Linked DNA regions of Homo sapiens: regions 1 and 3 are each linked to region 2. The links are contacts of gene promoters, found by promoter capture Hi-C in human tissues and cell types (Jung and others, 2019). All regions are on one chromosome and are shown on one strand. Each heading gives the region's core, a stretch centred on a gene start or on the middle of the fragment in contact. The rest is flanking DNA. Distances are from core to core; before and after follow the strand shown. Region 1 overlaps DLG1 (discs large MAGUK scaffold protein 1). Region 2 holds the start of FYTTD1 (forty-two-three domain containing 1). Region 3 holds the start of MIR4797 (microRNA 4797).

The links. Contacts are between HindIII fragments. The study calls those that stand out against the background at their distance.
Region 1: a contact is called between a fragment that was not itself captured here and the fragment with the promoter of FYTTD1 in region 2, in 1 of the 25 tissues and cell types used here (lymphoblastoid cells).
Region 3: a fragment that was not itself captured here is called in contact with the fragment with the promoter of FYTTD1 in region 2 in 2 of the 25 tissues and cell types used here (H1 embryonic stem cells and lymphoblastoid cells).

What each region holds. Positions count from the first base shown.
Region 1 is chr3:197,238,276-197,240,985 of GRCh38, forward strand. The region is part of intron 4 of DLG1 (discs large MAGUK scaffold protein 1); the gene reads right to left. Among named protein-coding and RNA genes, the nearest start is that of MIR4797, 54 kb to the right of the region's middle. The HindIII fragment of the contact is 5,787 bases long and covers 1-2,710 here.
Region 2 is chr3:197,748,457-197,751,156 of GRCh38, forward strand. It overlaps FYTTD1 (forty-two-three domain containing 1), which reads left to right and starts at 1,427. Exons shown (of 9, transcript NM_032288.7): 1 at 1,427-1,618. The coding sequence starts at 1,516. It also overlaps a transcript of RUBCN not described here. RefSeq lists silencers at 1,224-1,563, 1,664-1,933. The HindIII fragment of the contact is 9,451 bases long and covers 1-2,700 here.
Region 3 is chr3:197,293,424-197,296,144 of GRCh38, forward strand. The region is part of intron 3 of DLG1 (discs large MAGUK scaffold protein 1); the gene reads right to left. MIR4797 (microRNA 4797) reads right to left here and starts at 525; the gene lies at 455-525. The HindIII fragment of the contact is 6,857 bases long and covers 1-2,721 here.

The sequences.
Region 1 (2,710 bases), core at 169-2,668, 510 kb before region 2:
AACTGAATATAAAAAGACAATCAGGAGATGCCAACATCAAGACACCACAGATGTTAGACTTACCTAACAGAGTTTAAAGTAGGCGTCATATAAAAAATTAATGAACAATTACAAATATACATGAAACAAATGAAATAATAAAAACTCACAGCAAAGAAATAGAAAGTCTAAGCAAAGAAATACAAGACACAAAGAACTATATGGAAATGACAGAACTGAAAATACAATAACACTAAAGACTCAATGTGAACAACAGAGGAAAAAGATTTAAGTGAAAAGTGAATACAGCCTAAGGGATCTGTGAGACACCATACAGAATGTCAATCCATTTGAAAAGATAGATATAGCACATGAACTATCATCTCCAGCTACAACTGGATGAAGTCAGAAATCAGTAATAGAAGGAAAACTGGAAAATTCACCAATTTGTGGAAATTAAACACACTCTTACACAAGCAATGAATCAAAGAAGAAATCAAAAAGGAAATTAGAAGATATTTACATATGAATGAACACAAAAACACAACATAACAAAATTTATGGTATAAAGTGAAAGCAGTGCTAAGGAGTAAATGTATAGCTCTAAATGCTTACATTACAAAACAAGAAAGATCTCAAATCAAGAACCTAGTCTAAAACTTAAGGAACTAGTAAAACAAGAACAAACGAAACACAAGGTTAGCAGGAGGAAAAAAATAATAAAGATGAGGGCAGAGATACACAAAATAGAGAACAGAGAAACAGAAGAAAAAACTTAATGAAACCAAAAGTTGTTTCTTTAAATAAACAAAAACACAAACCTTTAACTATATGGAATTAAGAGAGAAAGAAGACTCAAATTACTAAAATCAGAAATGAAAGTGAGAACATTTCAATCAATTCTAGAGAAATAAATAGGATAACAGAGTCCTATATAGAGCAAGTAAATGCCAACAAACTAGATAACCTAAATGAAATGGAAAACTCCTAGAAACACAAAACCTATCAAGACTAAACCATGAAGAAAGAGAAAATCTAAATAGATCTATAATTAGCAGAGACACTGAATAAGTAATCAAAAATCTTTCAACAAAGAAAAGTCCTGGACCTGAAGGCTTCACTGGTGAATTCTGCCAACCATTTAAAGAAAAATTAATGCCAATCCTTCTCAAACTTTTCCAAAAAATTAAGGAGGAGGGACTACTCACTCCTAAACTCATTTCATTAAGCCAGCGCTACCAAATACCAAGGCCAAAGATAGTACTAGAAAAGAAAACTACAGACCAATATCCTTCATGAACAGTGATACAAAAATCCTCAATAAAATACTAGCAAATCAGATTGACAGCATATTAAAAGGATTACACACCATGACCCAGTGGGATTGGGATTTATTCCTGGAATATAGAATAAATCAACATACAAAAATTAATCAAGAGGATTTCCAGTTCCAAAATGTCAGCACAGAAGCAAGCTGGCTTCACTCCTCTCACAGAAAACCAAAAACAAATATACAGAGCCGATGTTATTACCAGGAATATCCCAGAACTCATATGAAGATGCGACAGTTCAGGGGCCACAGAAAAGTTAAAAAAAAAAAAAAGAATTCTAGCAGATGGTGAAAGAATTGGACTTCCACATCCATGATGTCCCTCCCCTCATTCTGGCCAGCACCTAATGGGCAAAAAATTTTCCCACAACTCACTGTTTCTACACTGGAAAAAGTGAGACTGAGATATAACTCATGCTTCCCCATCATCTAATGTTCTCTGGCAGGAGACTGTCCCTTATCTTAGCCCACAGGATGCATCTCAAATGCCAGAAGGGAAAAATATCCCTGCGGATAGGCAGAAACAAAAAAGGGAGGCAAGACTACCATCTCCAGCTCTGGAAATTCTACTGTAACTCAGCCAAGCAAGACACTGAATCAGAGTAGATGTTCATTAGATGTTCATCAACACCATCTGTAGAAGGTTTATTGTACAGGTCCCCTGGGCAGGAACTCCTAGCCAGCATTCCCACACTACTGGGACATCCCCTTTGGAATCTCCCTCATTCGGGAAGAACAGTGCTCTGGTTCTTTACTAGAACCTAGGTGAACCTGGGCTTAAGGTAACTAGAGAGAGCTAAAAAGGAGGCAGCAACCTAACAGTAAAGAACTTCTAAGCAAATACATCCAGTAAAAACCAAAACAAGCCAGACAGAGAAGGCTGAATAAAACAGCCACAACAAACAACAGAAAACAGGTACCCATGATCTCCCCAAATGGACAAAGCAAGGAACCAATAACTGACACTAATGAGATAGTGATCTATGAGCTCTCTGACCAATATTCAAAGTAGTATTTTTAAGAAAACTCAGTGATCTCCAAGATAACACAGAAATGCAATTCAGAAATTTATCAGGAAATTTTAAAAAGAGATTAAAGTAATTTTTTAAAATTATCCAAGTCATAACACCAAAAGAAAAGAAAAGAAAAAAATCAAACAGAAATCTTGGAACTGAGAAATACACTTGCTGAACTGATTCATTAGAGGCTCTTGACATAAGAGAGGATCAAGCAGAGTAAACAATCATTAGGCTCAGAGACAGGCTATGAAAACACACATAGGAGAAAAAAGAATGAAAAGCAACAAAGATTGCCTATAAGATATAGAAAATTACCTCAAAAAAAAAATGTAAGAATTATTAGTGTTCAAAGAAAGTTGAGCAAAAGCATGAGGTAGAAAGC
Region 2 (2,700 bases), core at 177-2,676:
AAAAAAAAAGAGACATCTTAACCTTTGAGAATAAGAAGTTATTTAGAATATTCCCAAAAGCCTAACAAAAATCATACATTTCCCCAAGATAAGACTACTAGGCTTACAAAAAAGTCATGGTTCTTTGAGTTCAGCTGGAAACATAATCTGTGTGAAGACTCCTGGTTTTATCCATGCTACATATACAGGAAACGTTCACATTTACTTTTATTGTTAAGGTGACCGCAAAATTGTCACTGCAAGCTTTGCTTTAAATTCAGGCCTGGAAAGGGGAGCTGGAACAGCTGGCTTTAATTTTTAAGTGTGACATGCATAAGAAATATTTTAAAACATGGGATCCCCAAGCAAAAAATAGTAAATGTGTCATTGGTGTTGAAGTTGGAAGCCACATGACATTGTGACATGACTAAATTAAGCAAAGGCTACTGTGGTTTTGAGATGGCTGGTTTCCATGCTAAAGGAATTTTTGCATTTTATGAATTGGAGAGGAGAAAGGCGACAGAGATTTCTAGGTGGACAGAATGCATCTGGTATTGTCCTTAGATGTAAATATCCGAGATAGTTTTAAGCTGTATGAGGGTGATATAACCTAAACGCTTCCACATAAACGCAGTTACTTCAGGGAAGGAGAATGAGGTAAGAAGAGAGGTAAATACCGTATGTTGTAAACGGAAAAAAGTTATCATGCAGGAATTCATCAAATATTAAACTGTTTTCCCGTAGGGATGATTAAAAAGTAAACGAACCCTTCTATCCATTCCCAATGCAAATGAATTAGAAGAAAATGCAGCTACATCAACAGAGGTACTTACCCCTCCCGAGGGAAGCTGAGGTCTTATTAGGGTAGTGAACACCGTGCCAGATGTTTTGAGAGTGCCGATTGAGAGAAGGTACAGACACGGGAAACGTTAGCATTTACTTTGGAGTTAAGGTGACGCAGGAACCGTCACTGCAGCGTTTGCTTTGCGTTCAGATGCGGCAGCTCAGCGCAGCTGTAGGTGGAGGAGCGTGCCAGGGAGGGGGGAGCTGGGATGCAGCTGCAATCTACACTCGCAGGGGTCTGTCCTGCCTCCCGAGGCTGCGTTGCGGTGGGCGCGAAAGGCTCGTGTGTACCGAAGTATAGGGGACCTGTCTGCAGCAGGAGGGACTCGAAGGACACGGAGGATTATATCACTGAAGGCATAAGATTCAGAGGTGCCCGCGGTCTAGCATCCCCCAGTTTGGGCGGAAAGTCGAACTGCTCACAACGGCGGTCCTCGCGAGCGCCTAGCACAGCGGCTGCAATGCCTCGTCCGATCCTGCGAGGGCCGCTAGGAGCGAGTCACGGCGCGGGGCCGCTCTGGTCGCCCGCGAGTGTCGGTGGCCCCGCCCCGCCCGCAGCCGCGGGTGGAGACCGAGGACGGCGCCGGCGCGTGCGCGCTCCCTCGGTGCGGCGGGCTGCGTGCGCGAGTGGGAGGTGGCAGGCCTGCGACTCCGGCCTTGTCCGCGCCCGCTCTCGGCGCGACGTCTCCAGCCATGAACCGGTTTGGTACCCGGTTGGTGGGAGCCACGGCGACTTCTTCGCCGCCGCCGAAGGCCCGCAGCAATGAAAACCTCGACAAAATAGATATGTCTTTGGGTGAGGGGCCGAGTTGGACCGAGTTGGAGTGCGGGGGAGGGCGCGGGTGGAAGCCGGCGGCGCGGTTTGTGGGGGCAGGGGCGGTCGGCAGCAGTTGCCGGCGGAGTTTTCTCGCTGGTGGGCGGACCCGAGCGGAGGCCCGGAGGACAGCCGGGAGCGCAGGCTCGACGCCAGGTGCCCGGCTGGACCGCGAGGGACCCGGGCGTCCCCTCGGCCGCGGCAGTCGGAGGAGGGGCTGTGGAGGCGGGGGCAGGGGCGCTGCGGGCCCGAAGGTTCGCAGGGTCGCGGGGGGCGTCTCTTCTCCCCGGAGGGGCTACGGCTCGCCGCTCGCCGGCTCTTTGTGAGGAAAGATCTGCCGGTTTCCCCGGAGCGCGTTCGCGGTGGGCGTTATCGGGGAGCGAGGGGAATGGTCCGACCGAGCCGTTCTCTCTGAAGAAAGGTCTTGGAGAGCCCGGCCGGGGCTGCGGTCGGTTAAACCAGCGCTTCCGGAGCTTTCCCTGGTCGCCGGGCGTTCCAGGCCGGCGCCGGCCATGGCTGCCGGGCGCGACTCTCGGGGCCACCTCCGGCCGCGGCCCCGGAGCGTCTGTCAGAAAGGAAGCAGCGCTCGGCCGCCTGTGGGATGTGGTTGTGTATTGAGCGCTGCCTAGAAAAGCACAGTCTCCCTCTCCAGGCCTCAGAGCTAGCTAATGGGGGAGAAAGCAAACATCTTTGAAGGAGAGATGATTGCTGTGGCTCGCTGAGAAGCCAGGTAAAGCGTGGGGTTCTTGAGCGCATCTGAGAGGGTGGCGTGGTTTCTTGCCGATTATATAAAAACCGGGAGGTTGGTGATTCCATTAAAATCCAGCCCTGACACTACCGAGGCACCAGCCGCTGTGGTTAGCTTAGGTGGGCTAAAAGTACGAATATTTTTGTCGGGATTCAAGTGATGGCGTTGGGTGTAAGTCAGCTCTGCCAGGTGTTTGGCTGGCAGTTTTTCGGATATTTGAAAAGTACCTGACTAGTGGATTCCGAGGCGTACCCTTTCCCAGGACGGTCTTTAGAGTGATAACTGTCTTGGAAACCTTCTTTCGGTTTTCATTTCT
Region 3 (2,721 bases), core at 195-2,694, 460 kb before region 2:
ATTATAAAATGCACTATTTCATGTGTCAGAACACAGAAACACTGTCAATTAAAAATGACATATACCAGATATTGAAATATTTAACAGTTGGTATTTTAGAACAAATATAATACAGTACGTACATGCTTGTCCCTCTGAATAATCCAAAAGTACAGGAACCTAATCTATGTATCAACTACAGGGGGGGACACCAAACCCCTAGAGACTCAAACTTTTTTAAATGCATGAAAAGTCAATATAAACTACCAGTTCAAAGAATCAATCAATAAATGATCAATGCAGACTGAAAATCCAAAGACACTTGGCACCCCAAACAGATAACTAGATAACTCACTGCGGCCTAAACAAGTGATTTCCAAATTAAGGAAGTGAAAAATCTAAGCACTCAATGACTCCAAACAGCTCAGGTGGCCAAGACCCCTGTTCTCCTTTAATCCAGTGGTCCACAGGTACCAACTCAGAAGACAGAGTGCCACTTACTGAGAGAAAAAACCTTTCAGTAAGTGGCACTCTGTCTTCTGAGTCGGATTTTTCTGCAAACACTATGGACACAATGAACTGGTTTAGCTTAGGGCAGTTTACAAGCTTAAAGTACATTTATGACACTGTTTCAAAACAATGGTAGAGTTGCAAAATACAAAGAAAATCTTATCAGACTAAACATTTTCAGACTAAGTATTAAAAGTTATTCAGGAAACACAAGAGAATGTATTTATTCCGTAGTATCAACAATTATAGCATGGAAACACACAGAACCTCTATTAAACGTTATCTATTTCAAAACTCCTAAAATCTATTACTTGTCTTACACCAAAATGTGATATAGTACCACATCCTATAGAACATTAAATATAAGTAAATTTAAATGTCAAAGTAAATTCACAACCAATGAAATTAGAAGATTCACAAATATAAACTTAGTAATTAGGAAGCTAACTCTAGGCCAGACGCGGTGGCTCACGCCTGTAATCCCAACATTTTGGGAGGCCGAGGTGGGTGGATCACGAGGTCAGGAGATCGAGACCATCCTGGCTTACACAGTGAAACCCCGTCTTTACTAAAAATACAATACAAAAAATAAAAAATTAGCCGGACGTGGTGGTGGGCACCTTTGGTCCCAGCTACTCAGGAGGCTGAGGCAGGAGAATGGCGTGAACCTGGCAGGCGGAGCTTGCAGTGAGCGGAGATCTCGCCACTGCACTCCAGCCTGGGTGACAGAGTGAGACTCTGCCTCAAAAAAAAAAAAAAAAAAAAAGAGAAGAAAGCTAACTCTATCAAAGTTCAATTGTACGTAAGAATAGACACATTCAAAACAGGCAAGGCAGAATAGGTCAAAAATGTCTCTGAACACAGCAAACCCATCCCCAATCTAGACAGAAATATAAATGTAGATTCTGTTATTTCACTAACGATTTAATTTTCTTAAGTTACAGCCATCACACAAAGAAAAGTCTGCAGTCTATCTATCTGCCTATCTATACATATATGTATATATATATCTCTATACTGTTGCGAAAAAACATACTTTTTTTGCAACAGTAACTGCACCAAATTACTAGGCTCAATGTTGATTTAGAAAACAAATAACTAAAAAATGCTTTTTGCTGTTTTTCCAGAGGAATCCAATTTGATCATCCATTCGGACCTTAAACCTCAGAAATTCAAATGTGTAAAAAATGTCCATCAATGTAAACAAAAATGGCAAAATGTGAATTTCTGGAGCTGGGTAACAGTTAAAAGGCAGTTCATTACACTGTGCTATGTATCCTTATGTTTTTAAAAGTCTATTAAAATGTTACATTTTTCAAAATTGTTCAGGTGCATCAAGTGGTCTTTACAAAAATCTTTCATTCTAAAACCGTAGAGAGCATCCATTTATCAATAATGTACCTGACAGGACACACTGACTTGAAAGTAGTCTTCAAATCACACCAACAATTATTCTATCAACAGATAGATGTAAGGCCATATCTGACTGGAAGTTACTGAAGAAATAAATGTAATATAATTAAGTATATGTCTTCTTATGTTAAAATGTTATATAGTTGATAACTAAAACAAAAAAAAAAAACTTCATTCTTAGAATTGGAAGAGACAAACTTTCTAGTTCGGTGGTTTGCAAACTTTTTGAGGTACCTGGACAAAAGAGCCAGACAAGTCACCTTGTTTTATACATAGGAGATTATACACAAAATATGAGATGATGCTTTTAAAAATGATTTATCTACTTAAAAAAGGCTTTAAACCCATTCTGTCATTTCAACAGCTACATTCTACAGCTAATATGGTGGCATAGAAAAGATTAAATGACTTGGGATATATCATTCAATTAGTGGCAAAAGAACTCAGGACTCTTATTTTTCCAGTTCTTTCAAACAATGCACCACTTCAAATTAAGTTACAATTAAGAATAAAACTTTCCATTTTCTTGCCTGTAAAATACGGTTACTAGACAAGATCATCTCTAAGATTATTTTCCAGGTCTAAAATTCTGACTCCATGAATGCCAAGCTCAAACAGAAATCTACATTAAGGGAATGAATGTTCTTCAACACAGCAGAACCCTTCACACGCTTTCAATGACTTCAGAGACATGCCAGTCAAATACAGAAACAAGCTCACAGTAACTCAGTCATACCTTTTAGGTCCTTAAACATCTGTGCAACATCTTTTAATAGTTAATGCTATTAAGATGTGAAACAATGTTCTCAAAAGCCACTG